4 separate regions of the Homo sapiens genome follow, and all the other regions are linked to region 1. Evidence: promoter capture Hi-C in 16 types of primary human blood cells and fetal thymus (Javierre and others, 2016). All regions are on one chromosome and are shown on one strand. Each heading gives the region's core, a stretch centred on a gene start or on the middle of the fragment in contact. The rest is flanking DNA. Distances are from core to core; before and after follow the strand shown.

Region 1 (2,700 bases), core at 113-2,612:
AAGGGGAAGGCACGGGGGCCCCTTCCCAGGGTCCAGGGGAGGACAGGGGCGGTAGGCAGCGGCTCCACTCACCTTCTGGCCGTCCACATTCGTCTCCGTGGCTGCAGGGCACCCTGCGTGGCACAGTGAGAAGTACATGAGGCCGTCCGAGCCGCACACAGGGCTGTAGTGTTCTGGCTGGCAGCTGCAGGCAGCGTTGCAGGGAGCCGTTAGGTTCAGGTGGCCTTCGGGCAGGAGGCTGCAGAGGGGGGACAAGCGAGTGGTAGGGTCCAGGCCAGAGCCATGCTGGCGCCCAGCAGGCACAGGGTCAGCCATGGGGCTCGTCCCCATGCAGCCTGCATTTCGGGTCTACAAACTTGCCAAGCTTGCACCGCCCCCAGCACGCTGGGCACTCACACTGGGCACTGCCTTCTGGTGATAGAATGGTTTTTCCTCCTCACGCAAGGAAGGCACACCCATGCCCCCCAGCACCGTCCGCCTGATGCACAGCCCCTTTCCCTAGTTCATTTGTTTTTGGACAGGCAACACATTCATATGGATCAAATACAAACATTAGGAAAGAAAAAGCGCCAAGTACACAAAGGCAGCCTCGTGGCCCCAGCCCCACCCCAGTCCTCGGTTCTCCAGCCACAGGCCGGCTGTGCATTTGCAGGGGTCGTCTGCACGTACACGCCCCTCGGCAGTCACAAACATCTGCACTTCTCACTTGAATCAGAGCACACTGCGCCCATTGTCCAACTCCTTCCTTTTTCCCACTTCACAGTATGTCTTGGCAGTGGCCCAGGATGAGCTTCCTCCACTCCTTTGTGGGCAGGGCCTCTGTTGTGAGGACAGCGTAGTGACCCCGTCCACCCTGATGACTCTTAGGTTCCGATAATGCCACAACGGCTGCTTTGTGCTTCTCGGCCTTGCACGGCACCTGCAGGTGCACTCCCGGGGCCCGCAGGGCAGGGCCGAGGTGCAGGCTACCTACGTGTATTTTGGATATTCCCTAATTGCCACCTGACCAGCAGGTGTCCCTCCCACTCCCAGCACATGGCAACTCCAGGAGCACATCCTGGGACACTTTTTATGTCACCGAGAGACCAGCCTCAAGGACCCCGAACACTAGGGCTGTTGTTCCATTTGACACAGCTACAGAGCAGAGTGCTGAGGCCCAGAGAGGCATATGACTGCCCGGGGGCACAGCCGGGACCCAAGCGCAGGCACTGCTGGGGGCTGGCATGGTGCCTTTTCACGTGGATGCTGCCGGGTGCCCTGCTGAGCGGGTGTTGCCCTTGCCGCTGTCCTGTGACGTAGCCCTTTTCAAAACCACCTCTCCCAAGTGCTGCACCACTCCTCCTCCATGCCCAGGGACCGCGGGTGCTTGGGGCCCCGACGCGTACCCAGGTGCCATCTGGCCCTCACCTCCCGCCGTAGCTGGCTGTGACGCCCGCCATGGGCACACTGGGGCAGTGCAGTGAGAAGACGAGGATGCCCAGCAGGCTGACAACGGTGCAGAACAGGCAGAACTTGATGACCGCGGAGCCCCGGAGCCTGAGCTTGTTCACAAAGAAGCCGCCCAGGAAGGTGCCGCCACCACCCGCTGGCACCACCAGGTACCCTGGGGAGAGGGAGGGATTCAGCCAGGGACTCAGGCAGGGGGCCGTGGTGGGAGAGGGTGGTGGATCAGCCGGGTCCACTTTACAGGTGGGGAAACTGAGGCATAGAGGGATCAATTCCTGCCTGCATGGCAGCACTCAACACCACACCTGAGTGCTTAGCTGTTGCGCTGATAGAGCCCTAGGAGGGACCTCTGTCCAGAGCCCACAGCGGGGATGCCTCAGAGGGGAAGGGGAAGGGGAAGGGGAAGGGGAAGGGGGAGCGGGGGGGCGGGGCGGGGCGGGGGGAGGAGGAGAGCCCAGAGTGCTCCAAGGTCAGCGGCCCCTGCCCCAGTGGGAAGCCAATGACTCCTCCACTGACCCCCCTCCAGGGCAGCCACACCCCCTCCTCCCCCAGGGGCCTCTGCCGAGTCCCTGCAGGCTGTGACAAGGACATTTGTCGAAGCCTGAGTGGCCACCAACAGTAAAAAATTGCGATTAGCTGGCATCTAGCTTCTGGGCTGACAAGTGAGGAGGGCACAGGTGAGGGGACAGGTGGAGAGGGGACAGGTTTGGGGGGACAGGTGGGGAGGGGACAGATTTGGGGGGACAGGTGGGGAGGCTCTCCAAGGGGCAGTAGAGCTGACCTCTGGGGGGCTGTTGAGTGTGGGAATGTGGGCTTGTGAGGTCAGCCCAGAGGGGCCAGGCCAGGATGGGCCTGTGGGGGAGGGAGGGGAGCCCTCATCTGATGCCCTCTTCCTGTCCAGATAGTGGACCCTGGAAGGGTAGAGCGCGGTAGATTGGCGGTGGTGGCCCACATGCCTGGCACCTCTGCCATGGCCCAGGGTACTCTGTGAACGCTGGCAGGAGGAGCAGCTCTGAGGAGGGGTCCCCACTTTCTGCAGACCTGCCCAGCCTGGGAAGGCCAGCCTGCCTCTGGCACCGAGAAACCCCCAGCTGCACTGTTCCAGGAGGTCCTGAGGCACCAGTGCCTGGCTCATGGAACAGCCAGGTCCAAACCCTTCCTGCACCAAGTCACAGAAGCCAAGACTAGGTGGCTAGGGGGTGGAGCCCACCGTGGACCCTTCCACCTACGGAGCATGTCCCACAAAGAGGGCAG
Region 2 (2,769 bases), core at 146-2,645, 170 kb before region 1:
TGACCGTGTCATGGGGTCAAACACTCACCTCTGGGCCCGGGGTCTCCCAGCTCCCCAGTGGGACCGCGGTATCCAGGGGGTCCTCGAGCGCCAGGGTGACCAATGGAGCCTGGGGGTCCTGGGGGCCCAGGGGGGCCAGCTGGACCGGGCCGACCAATGGACCCGGGTGCCAAAGGCTTCCTTAGGTGCGCGGCTAACTGTGCAATTTGTTCTTTGGGAAAACAAGGGTGCAGGCGTTTACTCGAGAGAGGATCATCAGAAGTATTGTTACGTAAAGCATAAAATATCTACACGGTGCTGTCTTCCAGAAGCAAGTTTTCCTTCTGATTGATGGAAAATGGTTTAACTGCTTTGGGGTGATGAATGCTGGAGCTAGAAAGGACCCCCAACCCCTTGGAGCCTGAGAAGCCTGAGTGGGAAGGTGAAGGAAGTGCCCTTGGGGGTGTTTAGGGACCTGCCCTGCCAGCCACAGGGGCACACTCCGCTGTTCTTGTACCCATTGCATTCAGCAGGCTTTAGGGCGTCTGCTGCGTGCTGGGAATCTGGTTGAATCCGGGGCGGGAGCGTGGGCCATCCTCTAGCGCAGAGGACAGGCAGACGCCAAGGCGGACGTGGACCCCCAAGGGCTAACAGGCGGGGTGAGTGCTAGGGGCTCACTTTGGCTGGAAAGCAGTGGCACGAAGGCTTTCTGTGTAGCCCCAGGCACGGGACCCCCAGGCGGGGATGGGCCCCGCTGCAGCCGGTGCACGTGGCTGACTTACCGCTGATCATCCCCCCACACAGCTCCCTGATGCGCTGCTCGCTGGCCTCCTTCCCCTGGAATTCACCCCACACATTCGTCAGCATGGGGGCGGCAGCCTCGGTGAGGCATTCCCACCGTCACCCCGCAAAGTAACTTCCTTCCGGAAAAAACACGATCTCAACCCTGTGAAAGCTGGAAAAGCCGGAAAAGCGACGTACCGGAACTCCCGGCTTCCCCGTGATGCCAGGAACACCCGGGACGCCCTGCAGGCCCAGAGGACCGGGGGGCCCGGGGACACCCTGAACACCGCTGGTGCCGTTGGGACCCTGGGTGCCTTTGGGGCCCAGCTCCCCTCGACTGCCAGACTGCAGAGGAACAGAGGAAGGTGGGTCAGGGGCGAGCCCAGGAGCCCAGAGCCACCCCGACGTGCTCTTTCCCAGCCGGCACGGAGCCGTCTTGCCCAGCCTTGACCAGAGCAAGCTTTTTTACATCTCGGATCTGGGCAGTGCCCTGCAGGGCTGCCTGGTTGCCCAGAGGTGGGCAGGAAGCCAGCAGGCGCCCATGGATGGTGTCATCGGAACAGTCGCCGGGCACTCACCTCTCCTTTGGGTCCGACCAGGCCGCTGGGACCCTGTGAAGAGAAAAGTTGTGTGTTTGAACTAAGTGTATTGTTGGGTGGGTGGGAAGTAGCCAGTTGAGGATAAAATAAATCAAATCATCCACACACCTGCTATTAGACTACATCCAAATATTGACAGTGGTTCCTTCCGTTCTTCTATATACATTTTTTATATTTCTGTGATTGCACTGATTGATTGAAGCTTTTTAAAAACTTACTTTCCTGGGAAGAGTGACTTTGTTAGCTGCACGGTGCTGTCTCTTACACACGCTTACTTTGCTTCCATTCCTTTTTCTTACTAACACGCCTAATGCTGGGCTGAACCTCTCTGCCCTAAAACCCTGGAACCCCCTCCAGCTGGGTCCTCAGGAATGACTGGCCCCAGGTGCGTCAACACACAGTCAGCCGGGTTAATGTCTCCTCCAAAACACATGCTGCAATTGAACGGCCACTGCACTGCAATGCTATTAAGAGGTGATTAGGTTTGAGAGCTCGGCTCTCCGGAGTAAACTAACACCGTTGTCTCCGCAGTGGGTTCCTCATGAAAAGGATGGGTTGGGCCCCTTTCTCTCTCTGGCACCTCCTCTTGGCCCTTCTGCCTTCCACCATGGAATGACGCAGTGGGGAGGCCCTCGATGGATGCACCCCTCGGTCTTGGGCTTCCCAGCCTCCAGAACTAGGAGCCACATGGATCTCTTTCCCTTGTAAACTACCCAAGCTGCGGTGTTCTGTTACAGCTGCAGAATACAGACTGACACAGTCTAACCGCACAGCAGAGGGACCGACCGGGCCCAGACAGCATGCTCCGCGGAGGCCAGGAGGGTAGGGGGTCACCTCACACAGCCCGACCGTGCGAGTAGCTGAGAGCAAAGCCTTAGGTTTTCCGCCTGCAAGGGGCTCTGCCCCTCACCCCACCAGCAACAGTGGCCACGTAGGGCAGCTTCTGGGATTTCCAGGGTCCATTTGTCAGTGTTGTCTAAGAATTCACTAAATGGGCTGGGCGAGGTGGCTCACGCCTGTAATCCCAGCACTTTGGGAGGCCAAGGCGAGCGGATCACAAGGTCAGGAGTTTGAGACCAGCCCGGCCAACATGGTGAAACCCCATCTCTACTAAATACAAAAATTAGCCGGGTGTGATGGTGGGCACCTGTAGTCCCAGCTACTCGGGAGGCTGAGGCAGGAGAATCGCTTGAACGCAGGAGGCAGAGATTGCAGTGAGCTGAGATCACACCACCGCACTCCAGCCTGGGGACAGAGCAAGACTCCGTCTCAAAAAAAAATAAAAAAAGAATTCACTAAATGAAACACATACAACTGAGGTCTTTTGTCCCCAGGCATAAAAAGTTTACACTGGGCTGTGGGGGTCTGCCAGAGACTGGGGTCCCTGGGGCTAGGCTGTTTCTATTTC
Region 3 (2,700 bases), core at 187-2,686, 190 kb before region 1:
GGTGTGAGAACGTTGCGTTTGAGGGCTTTTTCTTAACAGTAAAGTGATAGACTTACATAAATTTTCAGTTATTTTCAAGTTACTGAAAGTACTTTATAGTTTTTTATTTTCCTTATGTTATACTCGATGAGTGAGGCAGTCATCTAACATCTGCCGAAAGCCTTTGGATAGGTGGCTGCTAATAGGAGGACCCTATTAGGGCTGCCAGGGAGAGGCTGTAAGGTGATTCGGAAAGTTTGGAAATAAAGTCACTGCTGAAGGCACTGCTGCGCTAACCTGCATAGTCCCTTCCTCCCTGGGAAACACCTGCGTAGCCCCTTCCTCCCTGGGAAACACCTGCGTAGCCCCTTCCTCCCTGGGAAACACCTGCGTAGCCCCTTCCTCCCTGGGAAACACCTGCGTAGCCCCTTCCTCCCTGGGAAACACCTGCGTAGCCCCTTCCTCCCTGGGAAACACCTGCGTAGCCCCTTCCTCCCTGGGAAACACCTGCATAGCCCCTTCCTCCCTGGGAAACACCTGCGTAGCCCCTTCCTCCCTGGGAAACTGATTTGTGAAGTGACCCGAAAAAAGAACACTCCTTACACTTAGCTTTCCAAGAGTTGGTGAAGACAAGATGGGGAGGAAGAGCTACCGCCTTCTCCCATGTCAGTCCTTCCTTTTCCTCCCTATAAAATTTTATGCCAAAGTATATGTTCACATTTGTAAGATACAAAGATGAGTATTAAAGCAGCCTCTGTGCCGACTACTCAGGTTAAGGAATAAAATATCACCAAAACGACCGAATTCCTCTCTCTCCTGCTGAAAGCTTCATCATCCTTCTGAAATGGGTGCTTTGTGTGGCATACGCGTGCACATGAGCACGCCTGCCAGTCACGTGCCTGTGGTCCTTTGATGGATACAGTTCCACTGACGCACACGTGGCATAGCCTGTCACGCAGCAGAAAAGCTCGGACGCTACTTCTTCCTGCTTTGGGGAGGAGAGCCACTTCTGCGGCGAGGGCACACACACACGCTGCTGCAGTTTTGTTCTGAGCATTGCAGTAAAAATACTGTCATATTAGAATAATTGTTTTTTTTTCTTGTTCTTAGAATAATTGTATATAAAGAAAATATTTTTGGGAGGAAATATGTCCAGGTGGTTTGTTGTTGTTGTTTTTTTTTTTCCATTCTGACCTTTAGAAAAAGTAAACAACTTCTTGTTTTCTGTATTCATAGATAACACCTGTTAATTAAAAAGAGGGGCTTTGGATGAGGTCATATTGGTTGCATAGCACTTGGAAAACGTATTTAGTGTGATGATTGATTCTTGTTCAGTTTCGTTGTATAAAATAGGCTTGGGCTTCATGGTCCCTGCTGATGCTGAAAAACTGCATTAGTACATCTCTTTGTGTTTCGGTTCTCTGTGCTGCTTACCCAATAATGTTTATATCTTGGATTGAAAAGGCCAAAACTGTATTCAGCATTAATTGAGATAAGAATACAAAATTAAAAACCACTTTTTTCTTCTTTCGCAAAGAAGCAGCGCTATGCAAACAAGCACTGAAGAGGAATCGGAGTAGAATGCGTCAGTTGGACACAAATGTAGAGCGAAGAGCCCTTGGAGAGATTCAGAATGTGGGCGAAGGTGCCACCGCCACACAAGGCGCTTGGCAGTCCTCGGAGTCCTCACAGGCAAACCTGGGGGAGCAGGCCCAGAGTGGGCCCCAGGGAGGAAGGTCTCAACGTAGGGAGAGGCATAACCGAATGGAAAGAGATAGAAGGTAATACGTGTGACTGCTTGTCAGGCTGACTCATATATGATTACCTTAGTCATACATGGTTATCACAGATGAGTGATCCTTAGCCGTTTCTGCGTTCAGAGGGAATAAAGCAGGTAGGAGCATCGTTAGCTTTCCCAGATGGATCAAGGATCCCCCAGACTATGCCCAGGCTCGCTGGCTCACTAGGAGGACTCCCGGGACTCCGCATGCAGTCACTCTCAGGCTGTGACTTACTATGGAGAAAGGATGCCAGGTGCGATCAGCAAAGGCGCGTGGGGAGAAGGCAGGAGCTGAGGTGCAAGCTTCTAAGAGCGCGCCCTGTGGAGTCAGGCAGGTTGCCCCTCATGCCCCCAGCCATGTGGTCTGAAAACGTGGGTGAGGTGTTGCCAACCAGGAAAGCTCGCTAGAGACCAGGGGCGTGTCACGTAGGCACTGCCCCCATGCATGCAACCACAGTCCAGTCTCCCAGAAGGAAAGCAGTTGTTCAGTGTCAGCCATATCGTTTGCACAGTGTAGGTTCTGGGGGCACTCTTAACTCCCTGAATCTAGGTTTGCAGACTCCACTAAGGGCCAGCCCTGACTGCAGGCCTTTCTGAGGAGAGTGGTCAGGCTGTTTTGGTAACTGCTGCTTACCAGCCAGCTTGAGTTCAGCAAGTTTTGCCTGGTTCTTTTTTTTTTTTTTTTTTTTTGAGACGGAGTCTTGCTCTGTCGCCCAGGCTGGAGTGCAGTGGCGCGATCTCTGCTCACTGGAAGCTCCGCCTCCCGGGTTCATGCCGTTCTCCTGCCTCAGCCTCCTGAGTAGCTGGGACTACAGGCGCCTGCCACCACACCTGGCTAATTTTTTTGTATTTTTTAGTAGAGACGGGGTTTCAGCATGTTAGCCAGGATGGTCTTGATCTCCTGACCTCGTGATCTGCCCGCCTCGGCCTCCCAAAGTGCT
Region 4 (2,841 bases), core at 307-2,806, 130 kb before region 1:
AGAGACCTATGTCATACTGATGGCCGGTGTGGCCCTGAGTCCAACGTGGCTGGCACAGACTCTCCACCAGCACAGGTCCCCACTCCTCCTGGTCACCTGACCCCTGACCCCCACCCCACTCTCCAAGTACACCACCTTCTTTGAGCTCCTGGACCCACCACCTCCTGCTGCCACAGGGCCTGGAACACCCACCTGTCTCTTCTGGCCACCCTGCTTACCTAGTTAACCCGCTCGCCCGTCACACAGTGCCAGCTCCAAGCTCTGCGAGGACTGGAACTCTACTTGTCTGACTCCCACAGAAGTCACCAAATTCACCTTGGTGTGACTCAGATAGGGTCACCCTCTGCCTAAAGCACTTCGGGGGCCTCCCAGGAGGCTGACAATGGCCTAAGGGCCCGGGACTCTGCATCCTTCCCTCCCTCCCCAGGGTCTCAGCTGGAGACTCTGGCCCAGCACCCAGTCTAAAGCAGAGCCCCTGAAAAGCTAGCCAGCTGCTAGCACTGTGTTTGTGCTTTCCATGACAGGCTCTGGAGCCCCGGGATGTCCTCCTTAAGGACGAGCCTCACTGCAGGGGTCTCTGCCCAGGGGACCCCAGCAGGCACGGAGGGGCCTCTGCCCAGCTCAGGCTGACCCTGAGAGCTCACTGCAGACCCCAGCAGGCATGGAGGGGCCTCTACTCTGCCCAGCAGACCCCAGCAGACATGGAGGGGCCTCTGCCCAGCTCAGGCTGACTCTCAGAGAGCGGTGTGCGGGTTCGTGCCCCCATCGGGCGGCACAGGGAGGGCGGTTGGGCTCACCAGCGCCTGCATGTCGTACATGGTGCTCAGATGGTCCCAGATGACCTTGGATGGGACCTGCCGCCCGATGTTCTGGCTGAACTTGTCCCGAATACAAATCATGTGGAAGTGTCGGTTCACACCTGAGGGGAGGAGGGGCGGCGGGATAACCGGTGAGCGGTGAGGAGAAAGGGGATGGAGGGGACGGGCTGCCCTGGGGACTGGAGGGGCAAGGGTGGCTGCGGAGAGATGGGGAGGGCCAGGGTGTGGAGGGGCTGTGGGGGGGCAGGGCTGGGTGGTGTGTGTGGGAGGGGGTGGGCTGTCCCGGGGCGGGGGTGGGGGTGGGGCACTGCGGGCTGGGACCTCGCGGTCTCACGGGGGTAGGGGTCGTGGGCGGGGTCCGGGGCGGGGTCCGAAGGGCGCGTGGGAGGGGGCGGGGGTCCCGGGACGGGTGTGGCGGCGGTGTCACGGCCCGGGCTCGGCGGGGAGCGTGGGGGCGAGGGTGTCGCGAGCGCAGGCCCCGCCCCGCCCCGCCGGTTGCCCGCCCCGCCCCCACGCGCGTCCGCAGCCTGGGCGCTCACCGACGGGCTTGTGGCCCAGCATGGCGTGGAAGAGGCACACCTCCACCTCGGGGCTCCACACCACTGTCTCCTCCGCCGGGCTGGTGGCCGCCTCCCCCGGGCCCTTGTCGCCTGCGGCGCCCCCGCCGCCCACCTCGGCCTCTCCCATGGCCGCGGCCCGGCCGAGCAAGGAGCCCCCGGCGGGAGCAGGCGCGGCCACGAGCTCCGCGCAGGCGCACTCGGGGGCGGGCGCGCGCTCCGCCGGGTACGCGCTCGGGCTCACGCGCCGGCGTCGGCGCAGGCGCAGCCGAGGTCTCGGGTCCCTTCCCGCCGGGGACTCCGCCCTGCTCCGCCCCGCGCGGGGGTTCTTAAAACGTGTTCCTCTTTAAAGCACAGTAAGAAATACACTGCACCCAAACAAAAAAGTCTGTGCTTCAAAGGAAACCATCAGAAAAGTGAAAAGACGACCCACAGATGAGAGAAAATATTTGCAAATCCTATATCTGATAATGAACTTCCTTGTAGAAGGTATAAATAATTCTTATAACTCGATAATAAAAAGACAATCTAACTATAAAACGGCTAAGGATTTGGATACACATTTTTCCAAAGAAGATGTACAGATGGGCCGGGCGCGGTGGCTCACGCCTGTAATCCCAGCACTTTGGGGGGCCGAGGCGGGCGGATCACCTGAGGTCAGGAGTTCGAGACAAGCCTGGCCAACATCGTATAACCCCGTCTCTACTAAAAATACAAAAAAAGTAGCCGGGCGTAGTGGCGGGCGCCTGTAATCCCAGTTACTCGGGAGGCTGAGGCAGGAGAATCGCTTGAACCCGGGAGGCAGTGAGCCGAGATCGCGCCATTGCAATCCAGCCTGGGCAACAAGAGCGAAACTCCGACTCGAAAAAAAAAAAAAGATGTACAGATATGGCTAATGAGCACCATCGGTCACGCGAAACTAGAATCAGCCCGCGTGGGGACCCCCTGCCCCGCCGAGACCGCCACAACCACGCGGCCGGGGTGACGAGTGCTGCGAGGGTCAGGGCTCGGGACCCTCGTGCGGTCGTGCTGTGCGGTCAGATGGGCCGCTGCTGCGAAAGACAGTCTGGCCGTTCCTTCAACGATGGAACCGTCTCCCTAGGAAGCAGCAGCTCCGTGGCGGGCGCCCGCGGCAGTGGAACAAGACACAGGTTCAGGCTGGGACCCGCAGCCGCGAGGCAAGCGCCGCCCCCAACCCGGGGCTGAACCTGCGAGGGGCGCCCGGAGCGCGGGCACCCGCACGGCGCAGCCGCGTTCAGCCTAAAAGCAGCGAGCGCGGACTGCGGCAGCGTGGGTGCGGGCTGAGACGAAAGTCAGAGAATTCAGACACGAAAATACACAGCATGGGAATCCATTCACAGGAAGAGCCAGAACTGGCAACTCCATAGGAATAGAAAGTAGATGCACGGTTGCCGGGGACGGGGGAGGGGGAGGGAAACGCGAGTCACTGCGGATGGGGACCGGCT

The links. Contacts are between HindIII fragments. The CHiCAGO score rates a contact against its expected background, and 5 or more counts as called.
Region 2: a contact is called between a fragment that was not itself captured here and the fragment with the promoter of SLCO4A1-AS1 in region 1, in 2 of 17 cell types (monocytes and neutrophils). The highest score is 6.0, in monocytes.
Region 3: a fragment that was not itself captured here is called in contact with the fragment with the promoter of SLCO4A1-AS1 in region 1 in 2 of 17 cell types (neutrophils and monocytes); the score reaches 7.4 in neutrophils.
Region 4: a contact is called between the fragment with the promoter of MRGBP here and the fragment with the promoter of SLCO4A1-AS1 in region 1, in 12 of 17 cell types (neutrophils, endothelial precursors, monocytes and 9 more). The highest score is 10.3, in neutrophils.

Annotation. Positions count from the first base shown.
Region 1 is chr20:62,665,283-62,667,982 of GRCh38, reverse strand. SLCO4A1-AS1 (SLCO4A1 antisense RNA 1) reads left to right here and starts at 1,362. Exons shown (of 4, transcript NR_024470.1): 1 at 1,362-1,598; 2 at 1,973-2,123; 3 at 2,486-2,700. It overlaps SLCO4A1 (solute carrier organic anion transporter family member 4A1), which reads right to left. Exons shown (of 12, transcript NM_016354.4): 7 at 1,408-1,603; 8 at 73-238. The HindIII fragment of the contact is 12,915 bases long and covers 367-2,700 here.
Region 2 is chr20:62,834,525-62,837,293 of GRCh38, reverse strand. COL9A3 (collagen type IX alpha 3 chain) reads right to left here. Exons shown (of 32, transcript NM_001853.4): 27 at 1,341-1,373; 28 at 961-1,107; 29 at 762-816; 30 at 29-211. Among named protein-coding and RNA genes, the nearest start is that of COL9A3, 19 kb to the right of the region's middle. RefSeq lists an enhancer at 306-1,505. The HindIII fragment of the contact is 341 bases long and covers 1,225-1,565 here.
Region 3 is chr20:62,856,455-62,859,154 of GRCh38, reverse strand. TCFL5 (transcription factor like 5) reads left to right here. Exons shown (of 6, transcript NM_006602.4): 4 at 1,517-1,760. Among named protein-coding and RNA genes, the nearest start is that of TCFL5, 4.0 kb to the left of the region's middle. The HindIII fragment of the contact is 1,257 bases long and covers 808-2,064 here.
Region 4 is chr20:62,795,188-62,798,028 of GRCh38, reverse strand. MRGBP (MRG domain binding protein) reads right to left here and starts at 1,556. Exons shown (of 5, transcript NM_018270.6): 1 at 1,358-1,556; 2 at 798-919. The coding sequence starts at 1,505. RefSeq lists a silencer at 1,250-1,789 and an enhancer at 2,413-2,841. The HindIII fragment of the contact is 13,279 bases long and covers 1-2,841 here.